Regions from separate parts of the Homo sapiens genome. Here all the other regions are linked to region 3. The links are contacts of gene promoters, found by promoter capture Hi-C in human tissues and cell types (Jung and others, 2019). All regions are on one chromosome and are shown on one strand. Each heading gives the region's core, a stretch centred on a gene start or on the middle of the fragment in contact. The rest is flanking DNA. Distances are from core to core; before and after follow the strand shown.

Region 1 (3,876 bases), core at 770-3,269, 360 kb after region 3:
AAAGAACTCTCAAACTTAATAATAAAGAGATAAACATCACATCCTACCCTTGCAAAAGGCAAAATATTTGAATAGACACTTTACCACAGAAGATATAGTAAAGGCTGTTAAGAACAAAAAAGGTGTTAATATCAGTAACCATTAGGAAAATGCAAATTCAAACCACAATGACATACCACAACATACACAATAGAAAGGCTACAAAAAAAAAAAAAAAGAGAGAGAGAGAGAGACAATATCAAGTACTGATATGGGTGGGAAGAAAACTGGAATTCTCATACATCACTGGTAAGAGTGTAAGATTGTACACCCACATCTTAGTCTGTTTTGTGCTACTGTAACAGAATTTCTGAGACTGGGTAATTTATAAAGAAGAAAGATTTATTGCTTACAGTTCCGGAGTCTGAGAAGTCCCAAGTGGAGAGGCTTGCATCTGGTGAGGGCCTTCCTGACACATCATTCTCTACCAGAAAGCAGAAGGGCAATATCACACATAGGGGTTGGGGTGGAGGGTGAGGTGCTGAACTCTTTTTTCATCAGGAACCCACCCTCTTGATAATTAACCCACTCCTGCAATAACAGCATTAATTCATTCATGAGGGCAAAACCTTCATGAGCTAATGACCTCTTAAAGGTCCGACCTCTCTGCACTGTTGCATTGGAGATTAAGTTCCCAACACATGAACTTAAGGGGCCATACTCAAGACATAGCGATCTACTCTAGGAAGCAGTTAGTAAGCTTCTTAAAAATTTAAACATGCACTTGCCATATGACCTAAGTATTCTACTCCCAGCCATCTACCCAAAATAAATGAAAACATATGTCTACATCAAGTTGTTCATCTCAATGTTCATAGCAGCACAATTCGTAATAGCTGAAAATAGGAATTTATCAAAATGCCCATGAAGTAGTGAATGAATAAATAATTTGTGATATATTTCTACACTAGAATAATGCACACAATTTAAGGGACAGAATACTGATACATGCAACAAGTGGGATAAAATTCCAAGAGATTTTACTAAGTTAGAGAAATCAGATGCAAAAGACTACTTACTACATGAATTCATTCGTATGAAATTTAAAGAGGCTAAACTGTTGAAACAAAATGGATATCACTGGTTGCCTGAGGCCTAAGAGTGTGAGCAACAATTCACTATAAGCCTCATAAGAGAACTTATTGTGGTCATCCTAGTGTTCTAAGACCATATTATTGTTATGGGGGCACAATCACCTAAACCTAGTAAAATGCGTCAAACTATACACTAACAATAGGTGAATTTTATGGTGTGTAAATTATATCCCAATAAATCTGTAAAGAAACAATATGTACCTACTGCTGTTGAGTGTTTAAAACTGCCAGTTGTATAAATTTGCTTAATATTGTTTGTATCAATATTCTTACATATTTTCTTTTTATTCCAGCCCAACCCCTGTGCTTTATTCCATTTATAAGTGGAGGCAAGAGTGTTGAAATATCCGACCAAAATTGTAGATTTGTCATTTTTCTTTTCCATTCTATTAGATTTTCCATCATGCATTTTGAACCTCCAAAATAATATATATATGCAAGTAGGATTTTCTGTCTTCTTGCTGAATTGTTCCCTGTAAAATGGTTACTATCCCTCCTTTCCAGGTAATATTGCTTTTCTGAAGTTTACTTTGTGTAATATTAATAAAATAATTTCAGATTTCTTTTGGTTAAGATTGACATAGCTTATCTTTTTCATGTTTTACTTTTTAAATTTTGTTATAATTCAGATATCACAAAATTCACTCTTATAAAGAGTACAATCCAGTGAGGTTTAGCATATTTACAGTGGTACAACCATTGCCACGAATTTCCACATTTTTATCACCACAAAATGAAACTCTACAACCATTAGCAGTCCACTTTCCATTCTTCCTTCTCCTCAGTCTCTATGGATTGGCTTATTTTGGACATGTCATATCAATGGAAGCATACACCATGCAGCGCTTTATGACTGACTTCTTTTACTTGGCATAATATTTTCAAGGCGCATTCATGTTGTAGCAAGCATAAGTACTTCATTCCTTTTTTATGACTCAGTCGTGTTCTTTTGCATGGCCATAACACTTCTGTTTATCTGTTGATAAAGAGTTGATGCACATTTGGGTGGTTTCCACTTTTGGGCTATTGTGAATTGTGCTGCTAAGCACAGTACTATACAAGTAGTTTTATGGACATTCTCAATTCTTTTGTGTGTATACCTAGGCATGATATTGCTGGGTTATATTTTAATTATATTTTTAACAATTTGAGTAATTGCTAAAACTTTTCCCAAAACAGATACACCATTTTACATTTCCATAAGCAATGCATGAAGGTGTCAATTTCTCCACATTCTCATCAACACTTGTTATTGTCTTGTTTGATCATAGCTATTCTAGTAAGTGGGAAGTGGTATATTATTGTGATTTGGGTTTGTATATTCCTAATGACTAATAATGACTAATAATGTTGAGCATGTCTTCATGTGCTTATTGGCCACTTATATATTTTATGTGAAAAATTGTCTATCCTTTGCCTATTTAAAAAATTAGATTATCTATAGTTTTATCGTTAGTGTTCTTTACACATTTTGGATACTAATCCTTTATCAGACATATGATTTGCAAATATTTTCTCTGATTCTATGAATTCCCTTTTTCACTTTCTTGATTCTCTCCGTTATAACAAAAGTTTTCAATTTTTATAAAGTCCAATTAATTCATTTTTTTCTTTGATTGCTTGTACTTTTGATGTTATTTCTAAAATAATATTGCTTAATTTAAGGTCATGAAGATGTATACCTTTTTTCTTCTAGGAGTTTTATAGTTTGTACATTTAGGTGCTTGGTCCGTTTTGAGTTACTTTTTATAAGATATGAGATACGAGTCCAACTTCATCTTTTGCATGTGGATAACCAGTTGTCCCACCAACATTTGTTGAAGACGACTCTTTCCCCTATTGATTTGTCATGGCATACTCTTTAAAATCAGTTGACCAAAACTGTGAGGGTTTATTTCTGGACTCTCATTTCTATTCCATTGAGCTATGTGTCTATTTTTATAGGAGCAGCACACTGTTTTAATTACTGTAATTTTGGAGCAACTTTTAGAATTAGGAAGTGTGAGTCCTCCAACTTTGTTCTTTTTCTAGGCTATTCTGGCCACTTTAAGTTCCTTGCATTTCCATATGAATTCTAGGATCAGCTAGTCAATTTCTGTGACAATAACACAAAAAGGAAGTTGCAACTTTGATAAAGATTGCATTGAATCTATAGATCGGTTTGGGGGCATTGCTATTTTAACAATTAAATCTTCTAATCCATAAACACATGGTGTCTTTCCATTTATTTAGGTTTTTATTAATTTTTTCCATGTTTTCAGTATACAAATCTTATACTTCTTTATGCTTCTTTTGTTAAATTTATTCCTAAGTATTTTATTCTTTTTGATGCTATAGTAAAAGGATCAGTTTTCTTAATTTTATTTCTGGATTGTTTTTTGATAATTTATAGAAATTATCAACTTGATTGATCTTGTATTCTGCAAACTGGCTGAACTCATTTATAAGCTTCGATAGGTTTTTAAAAATACTTAGTATTTTCTACATTCAAAATCATGTCAGCAACTGGATATAAGTTTACTTCTTCCTATTTAATATGGAAGTCTTTATTATTTTATTTCTTGCCTAATTGCCCTGACTACAAATTTTCAGTACAATGTTGAATAGAAGCAGTGAGAGCGTACATACTTTTCTTGTTCCTGATCTTAAAAGTAAATACTTCAGTTATTCATCAGTAAGAATGATGTTAGCTGTGGGTTTTTCAAGAATATTCCTTATCAGTTGAGGAAGCTTCCTTCTATCC
Region 2 (3,847 bases), core at 949-3,448, 340 kb after region 3:
CCTGAATTATTGAGTCTCAGGCCTGCTTCCCCTACTAACTAGATAAGGAAAGTCACTTAAATGGTCACTGTCCCAGTTTACTTATATGTACTCCACAGGTTCACAACATTTGCCCTTGATAGTCTCTTTTCCCCATCAAACATTCTCTAATTCATATATAAATAGCAAGTCTTGAGAATTGATGCCTTTTCAGTGATGGGGCAGAGGCACAGAAATAAAGAATGTATTTGTAACTCTCATTTGTAAATGTAAAAAATAATTAACTAATTACAAAAAGAATGCATTTAATAGCATTTTAAATATTTCCAGATATGTAAACACACAGTCCTTCTAATCCAGTAATTAACAGGGCTACAAAAAGTTATTCCATTACATAAATCATAAATATGTTAGGAATAAAAAGATTTTATTAAAAATCAGTTTATCCATTTTAAATGCCATTTTTTTAATGGAGAACTTTGCATTCCTATTAATACCCTCATGATACCATTTGGGAAGCGACTAAATAAGGCAGTAAGAATGTCCAGGATTGTACAAAGCTTCATACTGCCAGTTTTGATATTGACCACTCTCAATATGGTGCTACTGAAGACAAAAGAAGAAAAAGCATGAAATTCGTGACTGAGTTTTAAAGCTATAAGAACTTAAACAAATGAAAAAAACTGTTAAGTTTCACCAAAGGCCACTCAGTGCTCTGAAATAATCTTCATCCCGAATAAGGCAAAACTTTAGTCTGAGATACAGTGGCCAAAGATCTTTTAAATAAGTCCTAGATCATAGTCACTTGGTTGTTTTATAAGAGATTCAGGTTTCAGTAGATGCTTAGTATTTTATGTTCTCCTAGCAGCAAAATTCTTAAAAGTTCCATCAGTCCTGGTTTCTGATGTTTAAGTGAAGATAAAGGGCATTTTCCATGTAAAAGCAGTGTCACCTGAACTTCTTAAAAGATACATTTAAGTAGCCAGTATTCCAACTTAGGACATTTTGATCAACATGGAGATGTTTTAATTTTGAGCACAAGATTTAGCTTTACCATTTGATTTCAATAATGAACAATGGAATCTGGACTATCTTAATCCAAACAGAAAAATACAGCAATACTTTAATATTAATCTAATTTGATTTCATTAATAAATACTTGGTCATTGTTTTCCCTATTAAATTGTATTTAATACCAACTGTTCTCATGTGGAATCAACTGATTGCATAATAATTGATTTCACCAATGAAAAAAGCAAATATATAAAAGTCTAACTCTATCTTAGAAAGTAATTATACACAAACACACAAATACCACCACTGCCACCATCATGTTAGCCCTTGTGAAACACCAGGTAGACAAAATTAGCAGGCTGAGAAGTTGTTACAAGTATTATAATTCCATGTTCTCATCCACTAAGTAAAGAAATTGTATGCTACAGATTGAAAATTTTGTTCAAACAATAAATAAGTTTTGTAGCAAATTAAAGAATCAAATATTTTCCTGGCTATACTAGATGACCTATTAAGATAAAAAGAATGAATAACTGAATCCTAAAAACTTTTTTGCTTGTTTTTCAAAGTGGGCCAAAAGGACGTAGTGAATCATATAAACAACAATAAAAAATAGGCAGCCTATTACTTAATACATTATTTTGCTCAAAAAGGTAGACTCTTAAGGGAAGAGAAAATTACCAATTTGAGAGGTACAATACCCAAATAAAATAGTAAAATGTCAAAGCCGAGCATTATTTAATTGCCTTAATACCAATCAAAATGATACCATATTATTCATTTTAAAATTGATGAACACTTTCTCATGCCAATTCATTATGTAATTTCAGCACCATGCATTAACAACACAATGTTGTACTTTTAAATTGTTGTAATGCAAAGGTAGTAGCCACCTAAAATCCATTACTACTTAAATAAATGTAAAGGGTTCATATTGAAATGATGGTTTTGTCTCAAATAGAGTCAGTTTGTATATTTACTTGTGAGTTTGCTTTAACTGTAAAGGACCTAGACAGTTAAGCGATGAAATATCTCATGATATTCAAGCACTGTATTTTATGGTCATTTTTGAGGTAGATTAAGATGGCTAATGATGATGCTATACAGAGAAATGTAATTAGGAATATTTTACTTAAAATTAAATTAATTTAGTTCAACATTTACTGATTGCTCATAGAGTAGTTCATACTTCACTTAATAGGTACACATTAGTGGAACTAGTTAACTAACATAAAGACAATGGACTGCCTGACACATAGTAACTTTACTAGTTGTTAAAAAAAAAAAACTAGTTGAACCATGTTTTATAGTGTCTGATGAACAAAATAATAAAAAGTCAGTTGGCTAGCCAAATTTTTTATTTAAAAAAATTCGTTGTATACATGTATTACTTTTGTCTGAAAATGTCTTTAAAGTAATTGCCGGGCACGGTGGCTCATGACTGTAATCCCAGCACTTTGGGAGGCTGAGGCGGGCGGATCACGAGGTCAGGAGATCGAGATCATCCTGGCTAACAAGGTGAAACCCTGTCTCTACTAAAAATACAAAAAATTAGCCGGGAGCGGTGGCGGGCGCCTGTAGTCCCAGCTACTCGGGAGGCTGAGGCAGGAGAATGGCGTGAACCCGGGGGGCGGAGCTTGCAGTGAGCCGAGATGGCGCCACTGTACTCCGGCCTGGGCGAAAGAGCGAGACTCCGTCTCAAAATAAATAAATAAATAAATAAATAAATAAATAAATAAATAAATAAAATAAAATAAAGTAATTCAAAGAAGGCTAATGAGGACACATTGAGGCGAGCAATTACCTATAACCTAAGGGAACCTGAATAAACTTGGATACAAACTAATCGGGAGAAATAGGGTAGTAACTTTTCTTCTGGTTTTTAAAGGCCTTTTTGAGGTACAAAGCGTTATGAAAGATTGGTATACAAGGAAAAAACTGTTGAAGCCTAGGGGATATAAAAGCCAAGTTCAAAGAAAGGACCAAGATAGGGATGGAGCCTTGAGAAGGAGGAGAGGTTAGCATAAAACTTCATGTTAAATGAGAAATATAAATATAATGAAAAATAAATTTCAATAAGAATATCAGGCTATAATTTCATTTTCTAAAGACCAATGTTTATTTTGCCAATACAAACTGAAAGAAAGGAGCAATCTAAGTAAAGAAGAAAAGAAAAGGGAAAGAGGAGAATGGAAAGAAGACAAAAAAGGAAAGAAAAAAGTCAAGGTATGTGATCTTAAAAGTAAATTATTTGCTCATTAACATAACAAAAAGCAAAAAAAAAAAAAAAGAAATTTGCCCCCTCTAGTGTGTGTTTTAACGGAAAACAAACTGTCTAAAACTTTCCCCAACTTCCACAATATAAACTTAACAGTAGACTGAAAGAGGATCCTGAGCTCTTTATTTTGTCTAACTTTCCATAGAATTTTACTGAAATGTTTAAGTAAAATGTATTACAGTTAAAGTACTACCATTCAAAGGAAAGCTTATGTCTTGAACAGGAAAGATCAAAGATTAGATTCAAAGTGTTTTTCATAAAAATTCATCTAATTGTGTTCACATCATTTTAAAATTCTGAATTCACCTAATTCACTGTAAAACTCCTTCCAATAAACATACTGTATAATTTTTATAAGGAAGCACCATGGCCTTAGTTCAAAGACATGACAGGGGAGGGATGGGGACAAAATATGTTGAAACAGAAAAACAAAACATTTATTCCTTCTTCACCCTCTTAGACAAAAAGGCTCATCTCTACCCTACATGGACAGCTTTTAATAGCTGAGAATTTGCTTTCATTCCACATCTTCCTCTACGCCCACCCACCTACCCACCCACCCAAACCTTCATACAG
Region 3 (4,109 bases), core at 1,554-4,053:
ACTCTAATGAATATATTGTAGAGGATGAGTTATGCATTTCATAATCTCAGAGTATTCCGGGTAATGTCATTTTCTCATTAAGTGTCACTAATACAACTTTTAATAATTTTTTTAAAACTTGGGAAATTGTTTTCTATATTGAGATATATATATATCTATCCCTATCTATTAACGTAACTTTTTGATATTGTGTGACTGCATTAAAAATGCCAAAAATATCTTCGCCAAGAACAGAGAAAGTCAGGATTATTTTAAGCTAGTATAATTGTCAGCATGGTTAAGAAAGTCTGAGATTTCAAGTGTCAAATTACTCTAACAAGCTAAATTCAATGACAAATTCCATTAAAAGGTCCTTATAAGAAAGTTATATTTTAAAAAATGTGTTTGTGACAACATTGAAAGATAGGAGATGCAACAAAACAAATTCCTACGTGAGTGGGCATGTATGTGTTTAACTTTCCAGTTGGCTTCCATCAGAATTTTTTGCCCTAACACATCTCAGAGCTCCTTACCACAAGGTCATCCACATAGCTATTTGTAAATATGCATGGCAATATCCAAATTGGTAGATTTCCATTTTTAGGTTATAATATATGCAATGTAAAGACTTTTAGGTAAGCTCCAAATATTAATGAAGGCTGTGAAAAGTCCATTTCAATTTTGCTTCATGATTTCATGTCTTATTTTCTCAATTTGTGAAACAAGAATTTGTAGGGATATAAGATTCCCTTAGAATCTCAGGACAAATGCATTTTATTTTGTATAAATATTAACAGTATTATTTTCACAATTATTTTATATTATTCATTTTTAGAATTGGAGAACATATGCAAGACATAAAAGTGCAGAAATGCATATATTTTGTTCAAGTAGTTCTTTCACAGGCACTCCATCATATGAACTTCCACTATAAGTCTCAGTTTTGTTGATTAAGGATTCGACTTCACACTTGCAGGTGGCAAAAACACCCTACACCACCTGGTTCCCTGTTATCTCTCTGCCTTCTCTTCTACCACTCGATCCCGCCCCACCCTTTCACTTATTCCCCAGTAGGTGCTAATTTCCTTTAACATGTTTCCTCTGCTCTTCCCTCAGCTGTCCTTCCCTCCCTTCCCCTTGTGTCTTTGGCCAAGGTTCACATTAATGGGTAGATAAGCCTTATCTATCCATTCTTATAAAACTCCCCTCCCTAGTGCTTCCTAGTATTTCTTTTTGCTTAATTTTTCTCCATAGTGCTTACCACCATCTGGCTTACTATGTATTTACTTATTTGTTTGTGGCTTGTCCCCTTTCTACTAGGATGTAAACACTGTATTTGTTTTTATCATTGTTCTATTCCAGCACAGAGAATTGTGCCTGGCACAGAGTGGGTGATCAATAATATTTGCCAAGTGAATTAATATATATAGTCCGTTTGATTTAAAATCTGTCTTTGGGTTCAAACCACCACACAGAATAGGGAAATAATTATTAAATGGTGAAAATCACATACCACACAAGAAGCTTCATATTGCTTCCCCAGTTTGGGCCTCAAAAATGCACTGAAAAATTAATAGAGATATTTGTTAATAAACATAAGTAAAATTATTATTAAAGCATCCTTGTGACGTATTTTTCAATGAATAAGACAGGATGCTATGAAATTCAAATTTCATGCTTCCTTATAGCTTTTTAATGAGCAGGTGTTGAACAGCTGATGACATTTTCTTTTACACGTGTAATTGCATATATGAAAGAGAAGTGGATCTCGATGGTTTTCGGTATCCACTCTTAATCTGAAGACTTCTAAGATTTTAAATCGCCAGTGGTCAGAAGTGGTGCATTACTTACGTGTACAGTCATAATAAAAACTGAAAATTGAACACGGCTTATGGGTCATAATTTCCAGAATCTAATATCTTATCTGATAAATCTCTAAAATAACAATAATAAAGAAAACCTTTTCTGTTTATTGGAATAGGTGTCAGGCCTTTCCGGGGTTGTGGGGGAAGGTCCCTTATCACAAATCCTCAGGAGATTTAACTGGGGAGATTAATCTGAGCAAAACGGTTAACAAGTGGGCATAGCAGATATTCGCCAAACAGGAGCTGGAAAAACAACAGGTCACTGGGCTAGAATTACAGCAGGAGATGGAGGGGGAATTGGACGCAGGAGCACAACCAGTCATAATTATCTAGCTCCCCGCCCCCTCTTCCCAGGCTCTCTGCCCTCCCACCCCCTAAAATAATGTATACATTTATGCGACAACTGCCAATCTGCTTGTCGTCAAACTTCACTGAAATATATACATATATATACATATTTTAATGCGTGTTTTTAAGCTGGTGCAGAGGGCTTGTTTTCCAGCCCCAGAGAGGGAGCTGCAGGCTGTGGCGCGGCCTCAGCGGCGGCGGCGGCAGCGGCGACCCGGGCGGCCCCAGGAGCGCCCCCAGCCCAGGGCGGCCCGCGGTGCGCCCTCTGCGCCCCTCACCTGGTTTGCCGCCACAGGAAGGTCTGGATGGGCAGGGGGATGCCGCGGCCGCCGTCCTGCTCCTGGCCCTCGGAGCTCTTCCTCTTCACCATAATGGTGGCTCCCGGGAGTCCTACTGCAGGACCCAGCTCTGTCTCCTCGCTAGCCGCCGCCGCCGCCTCCTCCCGCTGCTCCCAACTCTCATCCCCTCCTTCCCCGAGGCAGAGCCGGCTCTCTCCGCCCTGATCCCCCGTGCCTCTCCCCTCCCCCCACCCCTCCCCGCGCGTGGAACATGGCTGCGGGAGGAGGGGAGGGCTGGAGGAGCCGCGGAGCGAGGAGGGGGGCGCTCGGAGCAGCGGTCCGCCTCGCCGCCCCCGCACCCGCTCCCTGCTTTCAGCACCTCCCACTGTGGACAGCGGCCCGCGCCGGGCTGCACGGCCGGAGAAGCGAATCCGGGGCAGCTTGAGCCGCAGGGGTACGGCCCAAGAAGTCCACGCTCCGCATCGCAGGCGCTCGTCCCCTGCGCGGCCTCTTCAGCCCCCGGAATTCGGCTTTCCCCGCTCCGAGCTGCACTCAGGAGTGTCCCCTGTCCTGCTTTCCAACCTCAGCATCCAAACTGTCGCCGTCTGGGTAGGAGGAGCTTTGGGGAACCGCAGAGCAGTCGCTAACCCTGGCATCATTCTCACCTCCAGCAAGGAGATCAGGAGTCCAGGGGTTAGCCGGAGGAACACATGAAAATTATTAGAAGTGTAAACCAGGAAGGTGAGGCAAGGTTGGCAAGTGAGAGGAAGCTTGAAAGATCTTAGATATGAGAAGTTATTTTTATATGATAACCACAAGAAATAAACCTTGTTTGTTTTCCTAAAGCAGGAATACAAAGTTCCCAAAGTAACCAGTTGTGGATATCAGTTAATTGCAAATTGAGGAAGAACATTTGAATCATGCTGTGAGGAAATGTGGTTTATTACAGTCCATTAAATGCACTTGGGTGATCCTGTTCGCCCCCAGTGATAGCTACCATTTTCCTTCAGTTGTAATAGTCAAATGCTTATATGTTACATATATTAATATTTTATAGTTGGATTGCTGTTAGATATATTATCTAGGAGTAAAACAAGTAGGCCGGGGAGGGGGGTGAGGTGGGGTGAAGCAATCGGAATAGTAACTACCTGCAATTCCTCCTCCTCCCCCTCCTCCTTCTCCTTCTTCCTCCTCCTCCTCCCCCTTCTCCTCCTCCTCCTCTTCTCCTCCTTCTCCTTCTTTCTTCTTTCTTGTTCTTTGACGGAATCTCGCTCTTCAACCAGGCTGGAGTGCAGACGTGTGATCACGACTCACTGCAGCCTTGACCTCCCAGGCTCAAGAGATCCTCTCAGCTCAGTCTCCCCAACAGTTGGGACTACAGGTGTGCACCACTACTCCCAGCTAATTTTTTATTTTTGTAGAGATGGGGGTCACACTATGTTTCCCAGGCTAGTCTCAAACTCCTGGGCTCAAGCAATCCTTTCACCTTGGCTTCTCAAAGTTCTGGGATTACAGGCATGAGCCACCATGCCTGGCCTCATCTTTTAGAGCAAAGATATTGGTGTAATCCATGAAATGAAGAATCAGACTCCAGGTCCTAATCTCAACAGATGTAATATTTCATATATAATTAACAGCA

Evidence for each region. Contacts are between HindIII fragments. The study calls those that stand out against the background at their distance.
Region 1: a contact is called between a fragment that was not itself captured here and the fragment with the promoter of UNC80 in region 3, in 1 of the 25 tissues and cell types used here (dorsolateral prefrontal cortex).
Region 2: a fragment that was not itself captured here is called in contact with the fragment with the promoter of UNC80 in region 3 in 2 of the 25 tissues and cell types used here (dorsolateral prefrontal cortex and hippocampus).

Annotation. Positions count from the first base shown.
Region 1 is chr2:209,410,070-209,413,945 of GRCh38, reverse strand. No RefSeq gene overlaps it. Among named protein-coding and RNA genes, the nearest start is that of MAP2, 12 kb to the left of the region's middle. The HindIII fragment of the contact is 3,407 bases long and covers 316-3,722 here.
Region 2 is chr2:209,427,818-209,431,664 of GRCh38, reverse strand. All of the region lies in intron 1 of MAP2 (microtubule associated protein 2), which reads right to left. Among named protein-coding and RNA genes, the nearest start is that of MAP2, 5.7 kb to the right of the region's middle. The HindIII fragment of the contact is 5,532 bases long and covers 1-3,847 here.
Region 3 is chr2:209,770,526-209,774,634 of GRCh38, reverse strand. It overlaps UNC80 (unc-80 subunit of NALCN channel complex), which reads right to left and starts at 2,803. Exons shown (of 65, transcript NM_001371986.1): 1 at 2,471-2,803; 2 at 1,493-1,541. The coding sequence starts at 2,562. RefSeq lists an enhancer at 743-1,244. The HindIII fragment of the contact is 3,928 bases long and covers 269-4,109 here.